Regions from separate parts of the Homo sapiens genome. Here region 1 is linked to region 2. Evidence: promoter capture Hi-C in human tissues and cell types (Jung and others, 2019). All regions are on one chromosome and are shown on one strand. Each heading gives the region's core, a stretch centred on a gene start or on the middle of the fragment in contact. The rest is flanking DNA. Distances are from core to core; before and after follow the strand shown.

Evidence for each region. The method cuts DNA at HindIII sites, captures the fragments that hold promoters and counts their contacts. A contact is called where the count stands out against the background at its distance.
Region 1: a fragment that was not itself captured here is called in contact with the fragment with the promoter of MEOX1 in region 2 in 2 of the 25 tissues and cell types used here (bladder and neural progenitor cells).

Annotation. Positions count from the first base shown.
Region 1 is chr17:43,592,419-43,596,260 of GRCh38, forward strand. No RefSeq gene overlaps it. Among named protein-coding and RNA genes, the nearest start is that of ETV4, 48 kb to the left of the region's middle. RefSeq lists an enhancer at 1-264. The HindIII fragment of the contact is 5,639 bases long and covers 1-3,842 here.
Region 2 is chr17:43,659,345-43,663,594 of GRCh38, forward strand. It overlaps MEOX1 (mesenchyme homeobox 1), which reads right to left and starts at 2,578. Exons shown (of 3, transcript NM_004527.4): 1 at 1,722-2,578. The coding sequence starts at 2,190. RefSeq lists an enhancer at 1,331-1,872. The HindIII fragment of the contact is 25,285 bases long and covers 1-4,250 here.

The DNA.
Region 1 (3,842 bases), core at 746-3,245, 68 kb before region 2:
ACCCGAGGAGTTGCAGAGTGAGATGGGGAGGCTTCTAGGCCCCAGGGGAGGCCTGGGGTATCTGCCCTGCCTGGTTTAGGCGAGGCTGTTTACTGCAATGGGGTCTACGGCACACCCACACTCTCTCGCCTTCCTTCACTCAGAAACTGAAATCTCTGATTCCCGATGTCTCTTCCCAGCCACTCTCCCCATCTCTAGCCACTTGGCTGCCAACCCACCACCCACCCCTGTGGTTCTTTGCAAACTCCTTACCCTCCGTGCTCTTGCATACACAGCTTCATTCACCTGGGGCATCTTTTTACCTCTTCATCAGGCTCCTTCTGGAAGATTCACCTCAGGAGTTTCTTCCTTCAGGAAGCATTTCCTGATCACTCCATTCAGGGTTAAGTACTGTTTTCTTGGCTGGGAGCAGTGGCTCATGCCTGTAGTCTTGGTACTTTGGAAGACGGAGGCAGGCGGATCACTTGAGCTCAGGAGTTCGAGACCAGTCTGGCCAACATGGTGAAACCACATCTTTACTAAAAATACAAAAATTAGCTGGGCACAGTGGTGCATGCCTGTAATCCCAGCTACTCGGGAGGCCGAGGCAGGAGAATCGCTTGAACACAGAAGGTGGAGGTTGCAGTGAGCCGAGATTGCGCCAATGCATTCCAGCCTGGGTGACAGAGTGAGACTCCATCTCAACAACAACAACAAAATTAAATTTAAAAAAAAAGTACTTGCTGGGCGTGGTGGCTCGCGCCTGTAATCCCAGCGCTTGGGGAGGCCGAGGCTGGTGGATCACCTAAGGTCAGGAGTTCAAGACCAGCCTGGCCAACATGGTGAAATCCCATCTCTACTAAAAATACAAAAAAGTAGCTGGGCATGGTGGCAGGCGCCTGTGATCCCAGCTACTCAGGAGGCTGAGTCAGGAGAACTGCTTGAACCCGGGAGGCAGAGGTTGCAGTATGCCGAGATCATGCCATTGCACTCCAGCCTGGGCAACAAGAGCAAAATTCCATCTCAAAAAAAAAAAACTACCACTTTCAGCCGGGCAGGGTGGCTCACGCCTATAATCCCAGCACTTTGGGAGGCCGAGGTAGGTGGATCACAAGGTCAGGAGATCGAGACCATCCTGGCTAACACAATGAAACCCCATCTCTACTAAAAATACAAAAAAATTAGCCAGGCGTGGTGGTGGGTGCCTGTAGTCCTAGCTACTCAGGAGGCTGAGGCAGGAGAATGGCGTGAACCTGGGAGGCGGAGCTTGCAGTGAGCCGAGATCACTGCAACTGCACTCCAGCCTGGGCAACAGAGGGAGACTCTGTCTCAAAAAAAAAATTCCACTTTCTCTTCTGTGTTCCTACAGCTTATTGATTCTCAAACATTAGCCCTCATCAGAATCGCATGGAGGGTTTGCTAAAACACCGATTGCTGGGCCCCTCCCAGTTTCAGAATCAATAGGTCTGAAGTAGGGCTTGCACATTTGCATTTCTAACAAGATCTCAGGAGACACTGATGCTGCTACAGCCCCCTGTGATCACTTCCTCCATTGGTGGAACTTACCCTGCTGTGCTGCAATTACCCGCCTTTTTCTTTTCTTTTCTTTTTTTTTTTTTTGTTTGAGACAGGGTCTCACTCTGTCACCCAGGCTGGAGTGCAGTGGCGCCATCTTGGCTCACTGCAACCTCTGCCCCTGGGTTTAAACAATTCTCCTGCCTCAGCCTCCCGAGTAGTTGGGATTACAGGTGCCTGTCACCACACCCGGTTAATTTTTGTATTTTTAGTAGAGACGGGGTTTCACCATGTTGGCCAGGCTGGTCTCAAACTCCTGACCTCAAGTGATCCACCCGCCTCGACCTCCCAAACTGCTGGGATTACAGGCGTGAGCCACCTGTCCGGCCACCTGCTTATTTTTTGTTCCCTCCCACTGGGAGGGCTGGGACTGTCTTTTCCATTTCTCTATCCTACTGCTTGGCAAACAGTGAAGCTGATCACTGGAGGTTTGTTGACTGAATGAATTGTGGATTTGGAACCAACCTGCTAGTTGTAGAGCTCAGTTGAGGGGAGGAGGTCTGCTGGTGAGAGGGCTGGTTCTCAGGGCTTTTGGGGTCATGAGTATGTTACCTGAAAGGGGGCCCAATCCAGATCCCAAGAGAGGATTCTTGGACCTTGCAGAAGAAAGAATTCGGGGCGAGTTTATAGAGTAAAGTGAAAGCAAGTTTATTAAGAAAGTAAACGGGCTGGGCGTGGTGGCTCACTCCTGTAATTCCAGCACTTTGGGAGGCCGAGGAGGCGGATCACCTTAGGTCAGGAGTTCGAGACCAGCCTGATCAATATGGAGAGACCCCATCTCTACTAAAAATACAAAATTAGCCGGGCGTGGTGACTCACGCCTGTAATCCCAGCTACTCAGGAGACTGAGGCAGGAGAATCGCTGGAACCCAGGAGGTGGAGGTGGCAGTGAGCCAAGATCGCGCCATTGCACTCCAACCTGAGCAACAAAAGCAAAACTCCGTCTCAAAAAAAAAAAAAAGAAACTAAATGAATAAAGAATGGATACTGCATAGGCAGAGCGGCGGCATGAGTTGCTTGACTGAGTATGCTTATTGTTCCGGTTTTTTTTTTTTTTTTTTGAGACGGAGTCTCGCTCTGTTGTCCAAGCTGGAGTGCAGTGGTGCAATTCAGCTCACTGCAACCTCCGCCTCCTGGTTTCTAGCAATTCTCCTGCCTCAGCCTCCCAAGTAGTTGGGATTACAGCTGTGCGCCACAACATCAGGCTAATTTTTTATATTTTTAGTAGAGACAGGTTTTCATCATGTTGGCCAGGCTGGTCTTGAACTCCTGACCTCAAGTGATCCTCCTGCCTCAGCCTCCCAAAGTGCTGGGATTACAGGCATGAGCCACCACACCCGGCTATAGTTATTTCTTTATTATATGCTAAAAAGGGATGGATTACTCATGAGTTTCCTGGGAAAAGGGCAGAGATTTCCCAGAACTGAAAGTCCCTACCCTTCTTAGACTATATAGGGTAACTTCCGGAAGGTGCCATGGTATTTGTAAACTGTCATGGTGATGGTAGGAGTGTCTTTTAGCATGCTAATGTATTATAATTAACATATAATGAACAGTGAGGACGACCAGAGATCACTTTCGTGGCCATCTTGGTTTGGGTGGGTTTTGGCCATCTTCTTTACTGCATTCTCTTTTATCAGCAAGGTCTTTGGGACCTGTATCTTGTGCTGATCTTCTGTCTCATCCTGTGACTAAGAATGCCTAACCTCCTGGGAATGCAACCCAGCAGGTCTCAGCCTCATTTTGCCCAGCTGCTACTCAAGATGGCGTTGCTCTGGTTCAAACACCTTTGACAAGTGGGGATCACCCCAACCCCCCCAGGTGAATGAGCACAATTCCCTCTCCCCACGCAAGTCTCCCATAAAGTCCAAAACAAGAGGGTCACTGATTCACAAGTACACAAATACACAAGTCATGAAATTCCATCCTTGTAAAGGATGCCAATCAGAGATGCCAGAAGGAGAAATGGGGAATCAGGATTTTAACTTGATTTTCTTCCTCTGAAACCTGGAAATGCCAAGTGATGAAAGGATACCAGAACCCCGGCCTTTCCTTTGAATTAGGTCTGGACCCCAGCCCCCTTTCCTGCCATCTTATGCTCTGGCCACACAGTAGGGCAAGATCTCAATCCCTGCCCAAACTACAAACTCCTTGAGGACACATCCTAAGTCTTAATAATCTTGAGAACTACTCCTTCACCTTCCACATAAGGATCTGTGTTTTCTTTCCTTTTTTTTTGAGACAGGGTTTCACTCTGTCACCCAGGCTGGAGTGCAGTGGCATGATCA
Region 2 (4,250 bases), core at 1,328-3,827:
GGGATGGGGATCTAACTGGCTGGCGGTTTAAAGGGCCCTTCTATTTAGCAGCCATGAGGGCTGCTAGAGTTCCTATCTCCCATTGAAGAAGGGGCTTCTTCAAGCAGACAGACCAAACATCATTTCAAAATGAGGACTGCATTTGAAATCTACTGAAGGGGGTGATACCGGGGGCCTGAAGCCTGGGGTTTGAGCTCACTTCTAGGGTGACCAATTCTTCTGTTTGCCTGGGACTGTGGGGTTTCCTACGACAGGATTTTCAGTGCTAAAACTGGAAAAGTCCTGGGCAAATGGAGATGAGCTGCTCACTCTAGTTTGACCCCATTCTTTCTGTGTTCTCACCAACTTTCAGTCTTTCATTTTGCAGATTGAGAGAATCAAGGTACTAATAAAACCTGCTGTCCCCATCTCCCAAACCCGTGGGACTCAAAAGAGCTGACGTCAGTATCCCATGGCACCTTAAGCCTCCCCATCAGGGCACATCCCACTGCTGACACACCTCTGCAGGCCTCTTCTTCCTCTCAGTTTGAGCTTTCTTGGGTGAGACCCCTTTATTCATCTCAGAGCATTCCTGGGCTTGGCTAAGAGCAGAAACTCGGGAAAGCTGTGCTTATAAAGCAAAGCACAAAGCATTCCCACCTGTTGGTTGGTGTCCTTCTTTTCTGTCCTGCCCTGGTTAGCCCCATGGGAAGGTCCTCTACAGGCTCCGACAGACAGGCGTGCCCCTGAGGGCGGCTGTCAGGAGGAAAACAGGGCAGCACGGGCAGGAGGCTTGGTCACTGCTTTGTTCTGAACGAGGCCGGGACAAGGAACCAGACAAAAGGTGGACAGGTATAGTGAGCAACCAGGGAGGGCCTGGTGGGGAGGTGAGGAAGCAGCAGGTCCCCACCCTGGGGAAGAGAAGGGCTTTAGCTGGAATCTTAACAAATAGGCCAATCTCATCCTCCAGCCTCTGGGACTCCAGCACGGACTCCCTTGGCTGCCTGCCTCCCTGACTCTCTCAGAGGCTGCCCATCCCTTGCAGCTCCTTGCGGGGCTGCCTTCCTGGGGGGTCAGCCAGATCTCAGCATGCTGAGTTGTCTGTCCCCTTGGCCTGGACATGGCCCAGCTCCGCAGGGTGATATCTGGTGGGCAGTCTGCCCCAAACCTCAGCCCTCCATCTCCCCCTCACCCCTTGATTCTCCCATCCCAGCCGCAGGCCTGCTTCTCTGCCTCTAGGCTCCTGGACACATAGGGTCTTGGCTTTGGGTGGCCACCCAGGGTCCCAGCTTCAGTCTTAGCTCTCAGAGCCTTAACCTCAGCTGAACTTCCCTGGTAAGCGAGCCCTGTGGCTCTAGGACCACTTGGGGCTGGCCAAAGCATGGTGGGGAGGAGGATGACTCAATGGCAGCCTGATTCAGGAAAGCCCCTCACCAGCCCTCGCCAGTCTGCACCCAGAGGATCCATTTCACGTGTCCTCCAAATCCTGGCTGATCCTGTTTCATTCTCTTGCTGGACACCCTTTCTGGGGCCCAGGAGTGCTGGGACACAGACATGGTCCCCATCACCAGAGAATCCTAGAACTCTCAGTGGAAGAAACCCCAAAGGTAACTGGTCCAGTCTCCTGCATTTGGATGGACTAGACAGAAATTCATGCTCAGAGCACCTAGGCACAGAGAGGGTGAGTAACTTCCCCAGGGTCACACAGTAAAGGAATGATCAGCTGCTCCTGAGCCACCTACCTGAACTCTCCTTTCTCCGCCTGGATGATTTCTTCTCTGTCTCATTGGCAGTGCTCCCAAGCACCCCGTAGTCATCGCCTGGGCCTCCTGTGGTGTCCACCAGGCCCAGGCTGCTGGTCCCCATTTCCTTGGAACCCCCTGCCGGGCCTGAGTTGGGCCTGCGCCGGGCGTCTGAGACAGGGAAGTGCCAGTTGGGGGACTGTGGGAAAGCGGGGTGCTGCTCAGTGAAGATGTGCTCCTCCTGGGGCAGGCTGTGTGGGGTGGCTGCCAGGCAGGAGGCTGAGAAGTCAGGGTACGCTGCCGTCGCTGTCGCCAGGAAGTCTGGTTTCTGGTGGAAGGAGAACGGGGTGGGCGGGTAGTGGGGTAGCCCTGAGGCCCCATTGCCTTCCGAGTGGGGGTTTCGAAGGCAGCCCCAGACAGGGGCTGGGGGCTGGAGGCTCCTCATGCAGCTGCTGGCCGCGGGATCCATCTGCTGTCCGCTGCACGCCTCGGTCCTTTCAAAGATTTGATTCTTTATACTTTTTATGTTCAAATTTTTAAAAATGCAAAAGAAAAAAAACTAAATAGGAGGGAAAAATGTTCAACAGAAAATTTACCCCAGGAACCAAAAAAAAAAAAAAACCCAAAACTAAAGTCTCTCCTTAAAGTACACACACATGTGGCCAGCTACTCCTATGTGTGTGCACACACCTATGTCGGGCTTGCTCCTGCCCCTCCAATGCACCAGCCTACCTACTGGGATCCCCTGTATGTGTATTTGTCGCCAATGACACTAAACATTTTCACTGTCCCAACCCAGACGCACCAGCTGACGAGGAGTTCGTCCTGGAGCCCAGAGCAAATGCCTGCAGAGGGCTGGACCAGGGCTGCTGGGACACACTTTTAAATCCTGCGGTGGGGAGAGAGTGACAAATTTCTGAAGTGAAATGTGAGAGAGGAGAGGGAGGGGTTAACCCACACACACAAGATCCCCTCCAACCAAAACCCTAGCAGGCAACTATTAATCATCAGAAACCTTATATGCACATCTAATGGGATTTGCAGATGGAGACTTTTAAAGAAACATTGTCTGTATTTTTTTTTTAAGGAAAGAGAGCAGCACACACACACATACACACACACCGTCTTTAATGTGCCTCCTGTAACACTATGAAGTTATTTTTATTGCACTGTTAACAAAATTCCCCAAGTCTTGGATTTAGAAAAAGCCTTAAGTCAGATCCAGAATCCATCAAATGCCAAATTCCAGGGAGTGAAGTGAGGAATAAGAGCAAGAGACAAGCTTGGTGATTGCATTTGATTTAAAGGCCCTTCTACTGCTGCCTGCGAAAAAGGAAGGTGGATTAAAAGAAATCTTTTTTGCAAGTCTCAGCGGCCCACTGTGGTCTGCAGTACAAAGAAAGGCACACTCTAGAAAAAAAGAATTTCTCTCTGCCCAGAGTGACATTCTCACTTTCTCAGTAACTTAAAAAAACAATCAGATTCTTCCTTCCGCTCTTTAACCTCCAACATACATGCCAATTAGCCACACTCTTCTCTAGAGAGGTTTCAAGTCATTTTTCTTCACAGCAATGGCAAGGCTCTTAAATAAGGTCCTTGAAGTTTCTTCGGGTCTCCTCCCACCTGCTCCCTGCCCCCTTCACCTCCACCCACCTGCTTCCCTTTCTCATCCCCCAGAGGCGGAGGCTTCCGAGGAATTTGGGGTAGGGAAATAGGAATCAGGGGCTCCTCATTCCCCAAAGGAGCCTCTTTGGCAAGCAGGCACGTGGGTCTCCGGGCTGGTGCACATCACAGGGCAGCCAGCCCAAGTGCCATCTTGATGCCCAGTCTTCCTCATGGCTGCGCCCTGCTGGTCTCTCAGAGGGTTAATGCAATTTCTTGGAGGACGACATTCCTAACACCCAGGGGCCAGAACTCCTTCCCCACTGGTTATTCCCATGGCCCAGAGCAGCAGGATGGGGGCAGAAACAGGCATGGACCTTAACAGCAGCGTCTCTGCTGGCTGCTTCCAAAGACGGCGAGGGTTCCCTGAGGAGGGGCCCCTAGGTCTTAGCTCTGCAGCCTGGAGGTGGGGCCCTGGGGGGTGGGTGCAGGAGATGCTCCTAGGAGGAGCCGAAGGGCACCCAGGGATGTGGAATGAAGCCACGACTGGCCTTTAATCCAGAAACTCCAGTCAGATACACATCCTGGGAGCAGGAGCAGCTGTAAAAGATGGGGAGGGGTGTACATATGAAAAGATGTGCCCTCTTCTGGAACAAGCGGTCAGAGTGTTGTAGACCAGTAGAGTGGATGGGGTCATAGCTGTCAACCAGACTCATCTTTCTGCTTTGCCCAGGGCTTAGCTGTGGCACACACAATTCTCTGAGCCTCACAACTTTCCTAGGATGGGTAAGTAAGAATTATGTCTCCATTTTGCAGATGACAAAACCGAGGCTCAGATGGATGACTGGGCTGCCCAGACTCACACAGCTAAGAAATGGTGGAATCAGCACTTGGCCTCAGGTGTCCTGCTGTTCAGTTTGGAGCAGG